3 separate regions of the Homo sapiens genome follow, and all the other regions are linked to region 2. The links are contacts of gene promoters, found by promoter capture Hi-C in human tissues and cell types (Jung and others, 2019). All regions are on one chromosome and are shown on one strand. Each heading gives the region's core, a stretch centred on a gene start or on the middle of the fragment in contact. The rest is flanking DNA. Distances are from core to core; before and after follow the strand shown.

Region 1 (4,346 bases), core at 91-2,590, 140 kb before region 2:
GGAGTTCAAGACCAGCATGACCAACATGGTGAAACCCAGTCTTCTCTAAAAAATACAAAATTAGCTGGGCATGGTGGTACATGCCTGTAATCCCAGCTACTTAATTCTTTCAATAAGTCAGTCAAGATGAGGTTGTTAATTGACTGGAGCCAGAAATGTCTAAGCCTTCCCCTAGGAAGAGGGAGGGAGGGCAAGGTGCTTAGTTCATACCAAGAAAGCAATGGATGACATCATCTTAAAACATGGCCTGCTTCTCCTGGGACTGTTTTGAGGTTCAAATATGATGACAAAATTCTTCAAATCCCTTTGACAGTGAAAGCCTGGGCCCAGGGCTAGTGGTGTTTTTGTGTATTTCATTGGTACAAACAGAAGTAGAGGAAATAGCTCATTCTCACACCCTGTTGGAGGCATTGCTGGGACTAGAACCTGGGCCCTGAGCCCCAGCCTGGGGTAAAGTATGTCTGGCTATGCGCCTAATTGCATCACGCATCTTGAGATGCAACTGGTGTCTAAAGCGAGGGGGGCAGTCCTGAGGCACTGAGCTCTAAACCTGGGAGATCTGATGCTATTTCTGGGTAGGTGGTGTCAGAATTAAACTGGAGGACGCTCAGCTGGTGTCCATGGCAAAATTGATTGATTGCTTGGCATGTGGGGAAAAAAACCCACACATTTGGTCACAGAAGTCTTCTGTCTTTATTGTGTAGTGTGAGAGCAGAGGAAAATCAGTTGGTTTTTTTTTCCACTCACAAAGTGGCTCTGGACAAATCAGACTGTGCTCTGGCCTTGGGGACATCCAATGAAGAGGGAATCAGTATGTGAGGAGTTAGGAAAACCAGCCACATTAGAGAACAGTGGACGCTTGTCTTTTCGGAATGCCACAGCTGTTTTTCTTTCTTTTTTGACTGTGGGTTTTTCCATTTTATCTTTCCTGCACAGGCTTCTCTGGGGATCTTTGTGCTCCTTTGCAACAAGGTTCTTGCCTTGTTGGAGAGCAGGGACTCTATAAATGTTCCGCGGGACTTAGGATCCCTCCCCAGAGAAGGCAGTGGGAGGCCTCCTTGCTCCTACCTCTGCCTGTTTTCAGGATGAGCGTAGACACAGACTGACTTTTCTGCAGCAGAACGGCGGAGGCCAAGTGGCTAAGTGGACGCCACCATAGGGGGAGGCCAGTGGGAGGCCTCTCTAGTTTCCATTTCTCGCCTCTTTTTTTAAAATGCATTTTCCCTCTTCTCTTTCCAAATGCAGAAAGGAGTAAATGTGAAGCAAGCAGTGCAGATAAAGAGAGAAAAATAGCAAAGAGAGATAGGAAGGTGGCGCTCGTGGGATAAAAATGTAAAGCTTACCTGCTCATCAGGTAAAAAGTGCATACATGAAATTTTGGAGAGAAGTTTTATCCAACTCATGCAAGGAAGATCTGTTCAGCAAGCAAATTGGGGCTGCTAAGGCCTTCTAGAGAGTTAATAAGACCAGGTGCAGTGGCTCACACCTGTAATCCCAGCACTTTGGGAGGTCAAGGCAGGCGGATCACCTGAGGTCAGGAGTTCAAGACCAGCCTGGCAAACATACGAAAACCCCCCTCTCTACTGAAAATACAAAAATTAGCCAGGCGTGGTGTCTTATGCCTGTAATCCCAGCACTTTGGGAGGCCAAGGCAGGAGGATCGCTTGAGCCCAGGAGTTCAAGGTTACAGTGAGCTATGATTGCCCCACTGCTCTCCAGCCTGAGCAACAGAGAGACCCTGTCTCAAAAAAAAAAAAAAAAAAAAAGGAGCCGAGTGTGGTGGTGCATGCCTGTAATCCCAGGTACTTGGGAGACTGAGGCACAAGAATCACTTGAACCCGGGAGGCGAAGGTTGCAGTGAGCCAAGATTGCACCACTGCACTCCAGCCTTGGAGACACAGTGAGACTCCATCTCAAATAAAGAGAGATGGCTGGGCGCGGTGGCTCACACCTGTAATCTCAGCACTTTGGGAGGCTGAGGTGGGCGGATCACCTGAGGTTGGGAGTTTACGACCAGGCTGACCAACATGGAGAAACCCCGTCTCTACTAAAAATACAAAATTAGCCAGGCGTGGTGGCGCACACCTGTAATCCCAGCTACTTGGGAGGCTGAGGCAGGAGGAATTGCTTGAACACGGGAGGCGGAGGTTGTGGTGAGTGGAGATCGTGTCATTGCACTCCAGCCTGGGCAACAATAGTGAAACTCTGTCTCAAAAAAAAAAAAAAGTTAAGACTGAGGTTGGACCCCTTCTTTAGGGATAGATTTCCTTAAACTCCAGCTATGGGGATGGTAAGTAGCCACTGAAGATGAAGGACTTGAAAAAGAAAGGTTTCCACCTGTCCCAGAAGGTATAATCTCAGAAGTAAAAAGGAAATATGTACACTTGGAGACACACACACACACACACACACACATACACTCAGTCACTTTGCTTTAGAATAACTCTGTCCAGGCCTTGACTTAGGTTAGGTTCTAAACGGGTCAGAATTGTGACAAAGGCAGGATGGGAGAGCAGAAAGAGAGGTGGCCTTTGTGTGGCAGCACTGGGACTAGACCCAAGGGATATTTTTCTCTTCTTTTCAAGATGGCGTTTCGCTCTTGTTGCACAGGCTAGAGTGCAATGGCACAATCTCGGCTTACTGCAACCTCTGCCTCCCAGGTTCAAGCAATTCTCCTGCCTCAGCCTCCTGAGTAGCTGGGATTGCAGGCACCCACCACCATACCTGGTTAATTTTTGTATTTTTAGTAGAGACTGGGTTTCACCACGTTGGCCAGGCTGGTCTCGATCTCCTGACCTCAAGCGATCCACCCACCTTGGCCTCCCAAAGTGCTGGGATTACAGGCGTGAGCCACAACGCCCGGCCCTTTCTTTTCTTTTTTTAAAAGACACAGTCTTGTTCTGTCACCCAGGCTGGATTGCAGTGGTGCCATCATGGCTCACTGCAGCCTCAACCTCCTGGGCTCAAGCAATCCTCCTGACTCGGTATCCCGAGTAGCTGGGACTACAGGCACGCACCACCACACTCGGCTAATTTTTAAATTTTTTTTGTAGAGACGGGGTCTTGCCATGTTGCCCAGGCTGGTCTCAAATTCATGAGCTCAAGCAATCCTCCCACCTTGGCCTCTCGAAGTGCTGGGATTACAGGCAAGGACCACTATGCCCAGCTCTGCCCCCAGGGTACATTTTAAAGAACTGTTTTATTGTCAAATAAAAGCCACAGTACAGGTCGGGCACGGTGGCTCACGCCTGTAATTCTAGCACTTTGGGAGGCTGAGGGGGGCGGATCACTTGAGGTCAGGAGTTCAAGACCAGTTTGGCCAACATGGTGAAACCCCATCTCTACTAAAAATACGAAAAAAAAAAAAATTAGGAGTAGTGGTGCACACCTGTAGTCCCAGTTACTTGGGAGGCTGAGGCACGAAAATCGCTTGAATCCAGGAGGCGGAGGTTGCAGTAGGCTGAGATAGCGCCACTGCACTCCAGCCTGGGTGACAGAGACTCTGTCTCAAAGACAGGAAAACAAACCACAAGTACTACACACATACACAAATAATATACACTTAAAAAAAAAAGAAACCACACAGGTAAAACCCACACTGAACAAATATATGGCCTTAATACATTATTATAAGGTGAATACTTTTGTAACCACTACCCAGGTCTAAAAATAGAACTTTCCAATTTCCAACCAAAAACCTTCCCCACCAACACCAGTCCTGTCCTGACATTTTTTTTTTTTTTTTTTGGAAACGGAGTCTCGCTCTTTCACAAGGCTCGAGTGCAGTGGTGCGATCTTGGCTCACTGCAACCTCTGACACCCTGGTTCAGGTGATTATCCTGCCTCAGCCTCCCGAGTAGCTGGGATTACAGGCACGTGCCACCACGCACAGCTAATTTGTGTATTTTTAGTAGACACGGGGTTTCACCATGTTGGCCAGGATGGTCTCGAACTCCTGACCTCGTGATCTGCCTGCCTCAGCCTCCCAAAGTGCTGGGATTACAGGCCTGAGCCACCGCGCCTGGCTCCCTGTCCTGACTTTTATGAGAATCACAAACTTGAGTTTTTGATAGTCTGGCCACACAGGTGTACATCACTAAACTCTGTAGTCTTGCTCATTGTTTAACTGGAGATGACTGTTTGGCCTCTTTAATTTCTGGAGGATCTGTTCCTTCCCTACAGTTTCTCTAGGGCAGAGCCCAATAACAGATTCTCCAGAAACTGTTGACCTGCAGTTTCCCACAATCTGGATTTGGCCGGTCGCACCCTCGCGGTTCGGTTCAACACAGGCTTCACTTTCTGATTTCCCACCAATTGGCAGCTGGGTCAGAGCCTGGATGAGACCC
Region 2 (4,308 bases), core at 951-3,450:
TCTGTGGTCAAGGCTGCCAGGCTTGGGATGGAGCAGGCAGAGGGAGATAGAGGGAGGGAGGCTGAGGAGGGCAGTGGCTTGTAGGCAGAGGACACAACTTTTATTTATCCCTTCCCTGCCACTGGCCAGACACCTAGCATGTGCTCAGGAACCTCTTGCTGCCTGGCTGCACACAGCTGCAGCTGCCAGTGAGCCTCTAGTTTCTGGGTGGTCTTTTTGGAAAACGGGTGTAAGAGGACTCAGCCCCACTGCCCCTGGCTGGTGTGATATCAGGCAGGTTCCTTAACTTCTCCGAGCCCATCCTTTTCAACTGAGGAGCAAGTTCAGCTGAGCAGGAGGGTCCTCCCTACTGGGGGAGGCAGTGAGCCCTAGGAGTCCATGGTAGCAGGAAGCATGGATGACAGGCTATTTTTGGTTAGAAATTGAGTGTGGATGCTTCCAGAGTGGTGACCACAGACTTGTCCTTCAAGACCTCGCTCAAGGGCCTCCCCGGTCCACCAGACCTCCCAGGCTGAGGACTCTTCCTCCAGGGACATAGCCCTGAGCTGACGCCTCCTCCACCCTTTATCTCCCACTGGTCTGGGTTGCCATGACTTATCTCCTGCCGGGGCTTGTGAAGACTTGGAGGGCAAGGGCCCTGTGCTGGGTTCCTTTTGTGTCATTTTCTCCTCCTTCTCTAAATAGTGAACAAAATAAGGGCCAGGAAGACAACAGTTGCTCAAGACCAACTGATGAGGGATTCAAGCCAGCAAACACATGTGGACATCTGCTTTGGGTGGGCCAGACCCTGAGCTGGGCTGGGGGTGGGGTAGGGGAACATAGCTCCAAGAAAGAGAGAATCCCTGCCCTCTGGAAGCCGTGGCCATGGAAACAACTGCCCTGCTGAGTGATGGCTATGGGACGCCTGGGCTGAATGATTCTAGAAAGTTGGAAGGGATGCTATGGAGAACTGCCTAGGTTGTTCACTGCACAAAGTGCTGGCCAAGGGAGCAAGCAAGGCATAGAATCCAGCCTCGCCTCCACTCTCCAGATTCCATACCTTGCTGTGCGCTGTGCCCAGCGGGGAAAGAGCATTGTCTATTTGTGCCCTGGACGTGGAGGTCTTAGAGAATACGTCCCCCATCCTCCATCCTCCACCAACGTGGAGCCCCAGGAGGGCAGAACCTATGTCTGTACAGTTTCCTGCTGGGTCCCCAGCCCCTTGCATGCCCCATAGTCTATGCTCAGATGGAGTGGCTGAATGTATGAATGAGTAGAATGAATGAATAAAATGTATCCTCAAACGAAGATCTGACTAACTTGAGCCTGCGGCCTGAGTCAGTGGGCCTGGAGGGGTAGCACTGGGACCTCTGGTAGCACCTAGAAGGGGAAGTACCTCCCACCACGCTCCCAGTCCTCCCCTAGACAGGGAAGGTGGGAGCCATGGTACCTGGCGGGAGAGAAGACGGGTTCTGCTCTTACTGGTCCAGTCCCAGGCTGAAGTTGAGACGAATGATCAGGACTCAGAATGGGTGGGACAGAGGAACTGAGGGACAGGTAGACCAGTCGTCTGGGATTCAGGGAAGGTTTCACGGAGGATGTGGGACCAGACAGGTGTGTGTATGTGTGTGTGTCGGTGGGGGTGGGGTGGGGAATACTATCCAGAGGGCAGATGGTGAGTAAAGGCAGGGATGGGCAGAGCGTGTTAAGTGGCAGGAGGCTGAGTGAGGAGAGTTGGACCAGAAGTGGAAACTCCTTCGGGATAAAACTCAGAGAGTAGGACTCAGAAAACTTGTTTCGGGTTTGTCCCCTCCCCTTCCCAGCAGGCAGGATGTTGCACAGGGACAGGCACTAAGCAGACAGCCTAGGGAAGGAGGGCCGGGTGAGGAGGGGGGAGGGTGTCTGCTGGCCTTAAGTGACAATCTGTGTGAGAATCGAAGAGCTGAGAGCTCGGGAGCCATTGTAGGTTCTTGAGCAGGGGTGGCCCAAAGTGGGTGGTGCGGAGGGCGACTGGAGAGGAGGAGTCAGCTGGGGAGTCTGAGCGCGGCGCGGCCCGCGGGATGTTGGGGGCCGGGTTCCCTCCGAGCGCCGTGGTCTCCCTGTCCCGGCGCGGCGGGCCGGGTGGGGCCAGGCCTTGGGAGCGCGCGCCGGATCCCAGCGCCGGGCCGGCGGAGGGGCGGGGCCGGGCACGTGTCCTCGGGCCGCTCCCCCCTCCGCCACGTGACCCGCCCAGGGCAGGGTCGGGGCTGGGCTGGGGGCCGCGAGCCCAGGCGTCTGAGACCTACTGACCGGCCGCGGGCAGGGCTGACAGGCGGTGGGGCGGCTCGGCCCCTGGCGGAGTCGGCGGCGGGCGGGGACGCGGCGCTGGGAGGACGCGGCGGCGCTGGGAACGGACGCCTGGGCGCCCCGAGGCGCCGGGATGTGGAGCGGGTAGGTCCGCGCGCGCTCGCGGTCCCGCGCTGGGTCTGGGCCGCGGTCGCCTCCCGGGACGGGAGGATTTCGGGGGTCCCCGCCGGGTCTGCGCCGCCACCCGGAGGTGCTGTGCGCCCCCGCCCTGCCTGCAGGCGAGCCGACTTGCAGCCAGGAGACTCCGGGGGAGGGGTCGGGGGTGTCTCTCGGGGTGCAGGGTGCGAAGGGTGGGCAGCCGACCGTCCCGGGGTGACAGCGTCAACTCCTCTTAGCTCATCAGGAGCGCAAGTGAGAAGAGTTGGGGTGTGGGGAAGAGTGTGCACGACTCTGGGGCATGCACCTAGAGGAAGGACCCCCAGCCCACCCTCCCAACCTGTCCCTCAACCCCTTCGCTGGATGAACTCTTGGAAAGCAGTGTAGCTGGGAAAGAGGGGCTGGGTCTTTGCCAGGGTGGCTCCCAAGTTGAGGGCAGAACCTCCTTGTGGGGCTCTGGAAGTACGGAGGCTCTCAGAGGTGTGGAGTGGGAACCCCCCCCGCCCCGGCCCCGCAGCCTGGAGTGGGGTAGCAGAGACTCTGGGTCCTGGATTAGTGGCCCCAGTGGCTGTGTCTGTTCAGGCCACTGGTTCTCAGGGGCAGTTGCAGTTCCTGGCCCATCTGATGTGGGACCCCTGCCCTGTATGTGCAGAAAGGTTGTGGTGTTTTTGTGGAGTTGGGCAAACACTTCCTCTTCCCCGTGGCCGGGAAAGACCAGGTCGTGGAGGAAATGTGGCCAGAATGGGGGACAGGTTGTACTCCTGTGCCCCCTGGGCCAGATGAGTGGTCCCAGGAGAGGGCTACTGCCCAGCTACAGCTGGGGAGTGAGGGAAGCCCCCCGGAAAGGCAGGCAGGATCCACTTCACTCCATGGCACCTAGCAAAGGTTGAGCTGCGATGCTAGGGGAGGGATGGCCTTTCATCCCCAGCAGGGGGTGTGGAGAGAGTGGGCTCCTGTTAGGGGTGAGGTGTGGAGAGGCTTGGGACTTTTTTTTTTTTTGAGACGGAGTCTTGCTCTGTCACCCAGGCTGGAGTGCAGTGGCGAGATCTCAGCTCACTGCAACCTCCGCTGCCTGAGTACAAGCAATTCGCCTGACTCAGCCTCCTGAGTAGCTGCGACTACAGGCACACACCACCACACCCGGCTAATTTTTGTATTTTTAGTAGAGACGGGGTTTCACAATATTGATCAGGCTGGTCTCGAACTCCTGACCTCAGGTGATCCACCAGCCTCAGCCTCCCAAAGTGCTAGGATTACAGGCTTTTACCACCACGCCCTGCCCTAAGACTTGAGACTCTTTTTTTTTTTTTTTTGAGACAGAGTGTCACTCTGTCGCCCAGGCTGGAGTGCAGTGGCGCGGCTCAGTGCAAGCTCCACCTCCCAGGTTCACACCAGTCTCCTGCCTTAGCTTCCCGAGTAGCTGGGACTACAGGCGCCCGCCACCACGCCCAGCTAATTTTTTTGTGTTTTTAGTAGAGACAGGGTTTCACCATGTTAGCAAGGATGGTCTCGATCTCCTGACCTTGTGATCCGCCCGCCTCAGCCTCCCAAAGTGCTGGGATTACAGGTGTGAGCCACTGCACCCGGCCTGGGCTTGAGACTCTTAAAGGGAGAGAGTTGAAGGCCACTAGTGTATTTGTTGGCATTGTGCTTGGAGGAAGGAGGCTGGCTTAGGAGAAAGTGCTTGAGGTGGGTTTGTGGTACCTGGAGAGGTTAGGGCAGTCCTGCCCGGGGTGAATTGTGTTTGGGGAGCAGCCTCGTCTGCCGGAAGCCTGTGTCTTGTGCCGGCTGGGTGGACTCAGGCAACACAGCCCCTGAGTTAGTTGCTGTGTGACCTTGAGAGTGTGGACTTCCTTCTCTGGGCCTCTAGGTAAAATAAATGGTTTC
Region 3 (3,908 bases), core at 1,106-3,605, 160 kb before region 2:
GGCATTTTACTATGGCCACAAGTGGTGGCTCATGCCTGTAATCTTAGCACTTTGAGAGGTCCAGGTCAATGGCCTGAGCTCAGGAGTTTGAAACTAGCCTAGGCTACATGGTGAAATCTCGTCTCTATAAGAAACATAAAAAAATTAGCCGCAGGGTGCGGTGGCTCACGCCTGTAATCCTAAGACTTTGGGAGTCCATGGTGGGCGGATCATGAGGTTAGGAGATCGAGACCATCCTGGCTAACACGGTGAAACCCCGCTCTACTAAAAATACAAAAATTAGCCAGGCATGGTGGCACGGGCCTGTAGTCCCAGCTATTCAGGAGGCTGAGGCAGGAGAATCACTTTAACCCGGGAGGCGGAGGTTGCAGTGAGCTGAGATCACACCATTGCACTCCAGCCTGGGTGACAGAGCAAGACTCCATCTCAAATAAATAAATAAATAAATAAATAAATAAATAAATAAGCCACAGGCTGTGGTGGTGTGCAGCTGCAGTCCCAATTACTCAGGAGACTGAGGCAAAAGGATTGCTTGAGCCTGGGGATAGAGGCTGCAGTGAGCCATGTTGGCACCACTGCAAACTAGCCTGTGTGACAAAGCAAGAAAGTGAGACCCTGTCTCAAAAAGTAAAAAAGAAAAGTGCACTTTACCAGTATCATCTTCTTGGGCTATTTTTCCCAGCACCTTCTGACTGGCTCCCAAATGGCCAGGTTGCTGTCATCCTGGGATCTCCCTGCACCAGCACCCTGAGGATTTCCTTTTCTTCTCTCCTGTGTTGAGCCCTAGATTCCTGGGTCTCATGGCTTTCTCTTTCCTGGTTTACTCCTTCATTTTTATAGAACGCATCCTCAAGACTTCTGGAGGTGGATGCTCGGTAGTGAAAATTTTTGAAAACTTTCCATGTCTTTTAGTGGCTTTTGTTCTGCTTCTGCTTGATTGATGATCTGGTTAGGAATTGAATTCCAGGTAGGAAATCATTTTCCCATAAATCTTTTCAAGGCATTGCTCCATTGTCCTCCAGCTTTTCAGGCACTTTATAAGAACACAAATATAGGCCGGGCACGGTGGCTTACACCTGTAATCCCAGCACTTTGGGAGGCCAAGGCAGGCAGATCACCTGAGGTCAGGACTTTGAGACCAGCCTGGCAAACATGGTGAAACTCTATCTCTACTAATAATACAAAAATTAGCTGGGTATGGTGGCACATGCCTGTAATCCCAGCTACTCGGGAGGCTGAGGCAGGAGAATCACTTAAACCCCAGGAGGTGGTGGTTGCAGTGAGCCGAGATCACACCATTGCACTCCAGCCTGGGCAACAAGAGCAAAACTCTGTCTCAAAGAAAAAAAAAAAAGAACAGAAATATAACTCCCTTCTTTCCAAAGGATGCTATTTTGGTGGGGGGAAGCCCTCACCTTATATTCAAATAAATGCAAATTAAGAACACAGTGACATACCACTTTTCACCCACCAAAATGGCTAAAAGTAAACGAACTGATAATGCCAAGTGTTGCCAAGGATGTGGAACAACTGGGACATTCATATGCTGCTGATGGGAATGAAAAATGACACAACTATTTTGGAAAACATTTTGGCAGTTTCTTATAAAGTTCACATATACTTACTTCATGATCCAGCAATTTCACCTGTAGGTGTTTACCCAAGAGAAAATATGTATACTCATAAAGATTTGTCTGAAGAAGTTCTTGGCAGCTTTATTTATAATAACCCCCAAACTAGAAAGGACCCAAATATCCATCAACAGGAGAATGAATAAAGGAATTGTGGCATATCCATAGAATGGAATACCATTTGCTATGATCTAAATGTTTCTGTCCCGCAAAACTCATATGTTGAAATCTAACTATCCCTTATCTGGAATGCTTAGAAACAGAAGCATTTTGGATTTGGAATATTTGCATAATATTTACTGGCATCCCAAATCCAAAAAGCAGAAATCTGAAATGCTCCAATGACCATTTCCTTTGAGGGTCACATTGGTACTCAAAAAGCTTTTCAAAGCCCAGCGTGGTGGCTCACGCCTGTAATCCCAGCACTTTGGGAGGCCAAGGCAGGCGGATCACCTGAGGTCAGGAGTTCAAAATCAGCCTGGCCAACATGGTGAAACCCTGTCTCTACTAAAAATACAAAAATTAGTCGGGCGTGGTGGTGGTTGCCTGTAATCCTAGCTACTGGGGAGGCTGAGGCAGGAGAATCGCTTGAACCCAGGAGGAAGAGGCTGCAGTAACCTGAGATTGTGCCAGCCTGGGTGACAGTGAGACTCCGTCTAAAAAAAAAAAAACACATTTTGAATGATGGTGCTCAGCCTGTGTTAAGAGGTGGGGCCTGGCTGGGTGCGGTGGCTCACGCCTGTAATCCCAGCACTTTGGGAAGCCGAGGCAGGTGGATCACCTGAGGTCAGGGGTTCAAAACCAGCCTGGCCAACATGGTGAAACCCCATCTCTACTAAAAATACAAAATTAGCTGGGCGTGGTAGATGCCTGTAATCCCAGCTACTTGGGAGGTTCAGGCAGGAGAATCGTTTGAACCTGGGAGGCAAAGATTGCAGTGAGCCGAGATCACGCCATTGCACTCCAGCCTGGGCAACAACAGCAAAACTCCATCTCAAGAAAAAAAAGAAAAATACAAAATTGGCCTGGCATGGTGGTGCATGCCTGTAATCCCAGCTACTTGGGAGGCTGAGGCAGGAGAATCGCTTGAACCCAGGAGGTGGAGGTTGCAGTGAGCCGAGATGGCGCCATTGCACTCTAGCCTGAGCAACAAGAGCGAAATTCCATCTCAAAAAAATAAATAAATAAAAGAGATGGGGCCTTTAGGAAGTGATATGTTCATGAGGGTAAAGCCTCATGAAAGAATCAGGGCCCTTATAAAAGAGGACTGAGTGAGCCGTGATCCCGCCACTACACTCCAGTGTGGCCAACACAGGGAAACCCTATCTTTTTTTAAAAACTTTATTTTCAATTATCATTCTAGCATATTTTTTCTTTTTTTATTTTCAGTTGCCATTCTAGCACAGAGATCCTGTCTCAAAAAAAAAAAAAAAAGAGGCCTGAGAGAACGTGTTTATGTCTTTTCCCATGTGAAGACACAGCTAGAAAGCACCATCCTTGAAACTGAGAGCAAGCCCTCATCAGTCAGTGAATCTGCTGATGCCATGTTCTTGGAATTCCCAGCTTCCAGAACTGTGAGCAATAAATGTACATAGATTGCAAATTACCCAGTCTAAGGTATTTTGTTACAACAGCCCAAAAATACTAAGACAATATTCACCAATCAAAAGCAATTAAGTACTGACAGACGTAACAACATGGTAAATCTCAACGCATTATACCAAGCAAAAGAGGCTGGACACAATAGAGTGATTTCCTTCATCTAAAATAGGGAAAGGGCCGGGCGTGGTGGCTCGCCCCTGTAATCCTAGCACTTTGGGAGGTTGAGGCGGGTGGATCACCTGAGGTCAGGAGTTCGAGACCAGCCTGAACAACATGGTGAAACCCCATCTCTACTAAAAACATAAAAATGAGGCATACCTGGTGGCGGGCACCTGTAATCCCAGCTACTCAGGAAGCTGAGGCAGGAGAATCCCTAGAACCCGGGAGGCAGAGGTTGCAGTGAGCAGAGATCATGCCATTGCACTCCAGCCTGGGGAACAGAGCGAGACTCCCTCTCAAAAAAATAAATAAATAAAATAAAATAGGGAAAGGAAAATAGAAAAGGACAAACAACTTAATACAACAAAAAAGCAGGTCAGTGGTTTCCCAGTCCTGGGACCAAGGTGGGAGTGGTATGGATCATAAAGGGACGTGAGGAAAGTTCTGGGGTGGTGGAAATGTTCTATGTCCTGTTGTGTTGGTGGATACGTGGGTATAAATGTTTGTCACAACCCA

The links. The method cuts DNA at HindIII sites, captures the fragments that hold promoters and counts their contacts. A contact is called where the count stands out against the background at its distance.
Region 1: a contact is called between a fragment that was not itself captured here and the fragment with the promoter of RAB3IL1 in region 2, in 3 of the 25 tissues and cell types used here (H1 embryonic stem cells, aorta and stomach).
Region 3: a fragment that was not itself captured here is called in contact with the fragment with the promoter of RAB3IL1 in region 2 in 1 of the 25 tissues and cell types used here (spleen).

The regions. Positions count from the first base shown.
Region 1 is chr11:62,058,521-62,062,866 of GRCh38, reverse strand. All of the region lies in intron 1 of LINC02733 (long intergenic non-protein coding RNA 2733), which reads left to right. Among named protein-coding and RNA genes, the nearest start is that of LINC02733, 22 kb to the left of the region's middle. The HindIII fragment of the contact is 8,729 bases long and covers 1-4,346 here.
Region 2 is chr11:61,915,458-61,919,765 of GRCh38, reverse strand. RAB3IL1 (RAB3A interacting protein like 1) reads left to right here and starts at 2,200. Exons shown (of 10, transcript NM_013401.4): 1 at 2,200-2,409. The coding sequence starts at 2,399. The HindIII fragment of the contact is 7,999 bases long and covers 1-3,557 here.
Region 3 is chr11:62,076,606-62,080,513 of GRCh38, reverse strand. The region is part of intron 1 of LINC02733 (long intergenic non-protein coding RNA 2733); the gene reads left to right. Among named protein-coding and RNA genes, the nearest start is that of LINC02733, 3.8 kb to the left of the region's middle. The HindIII fragment of the contact is 3,887 bases long and covers 412-3,908 here.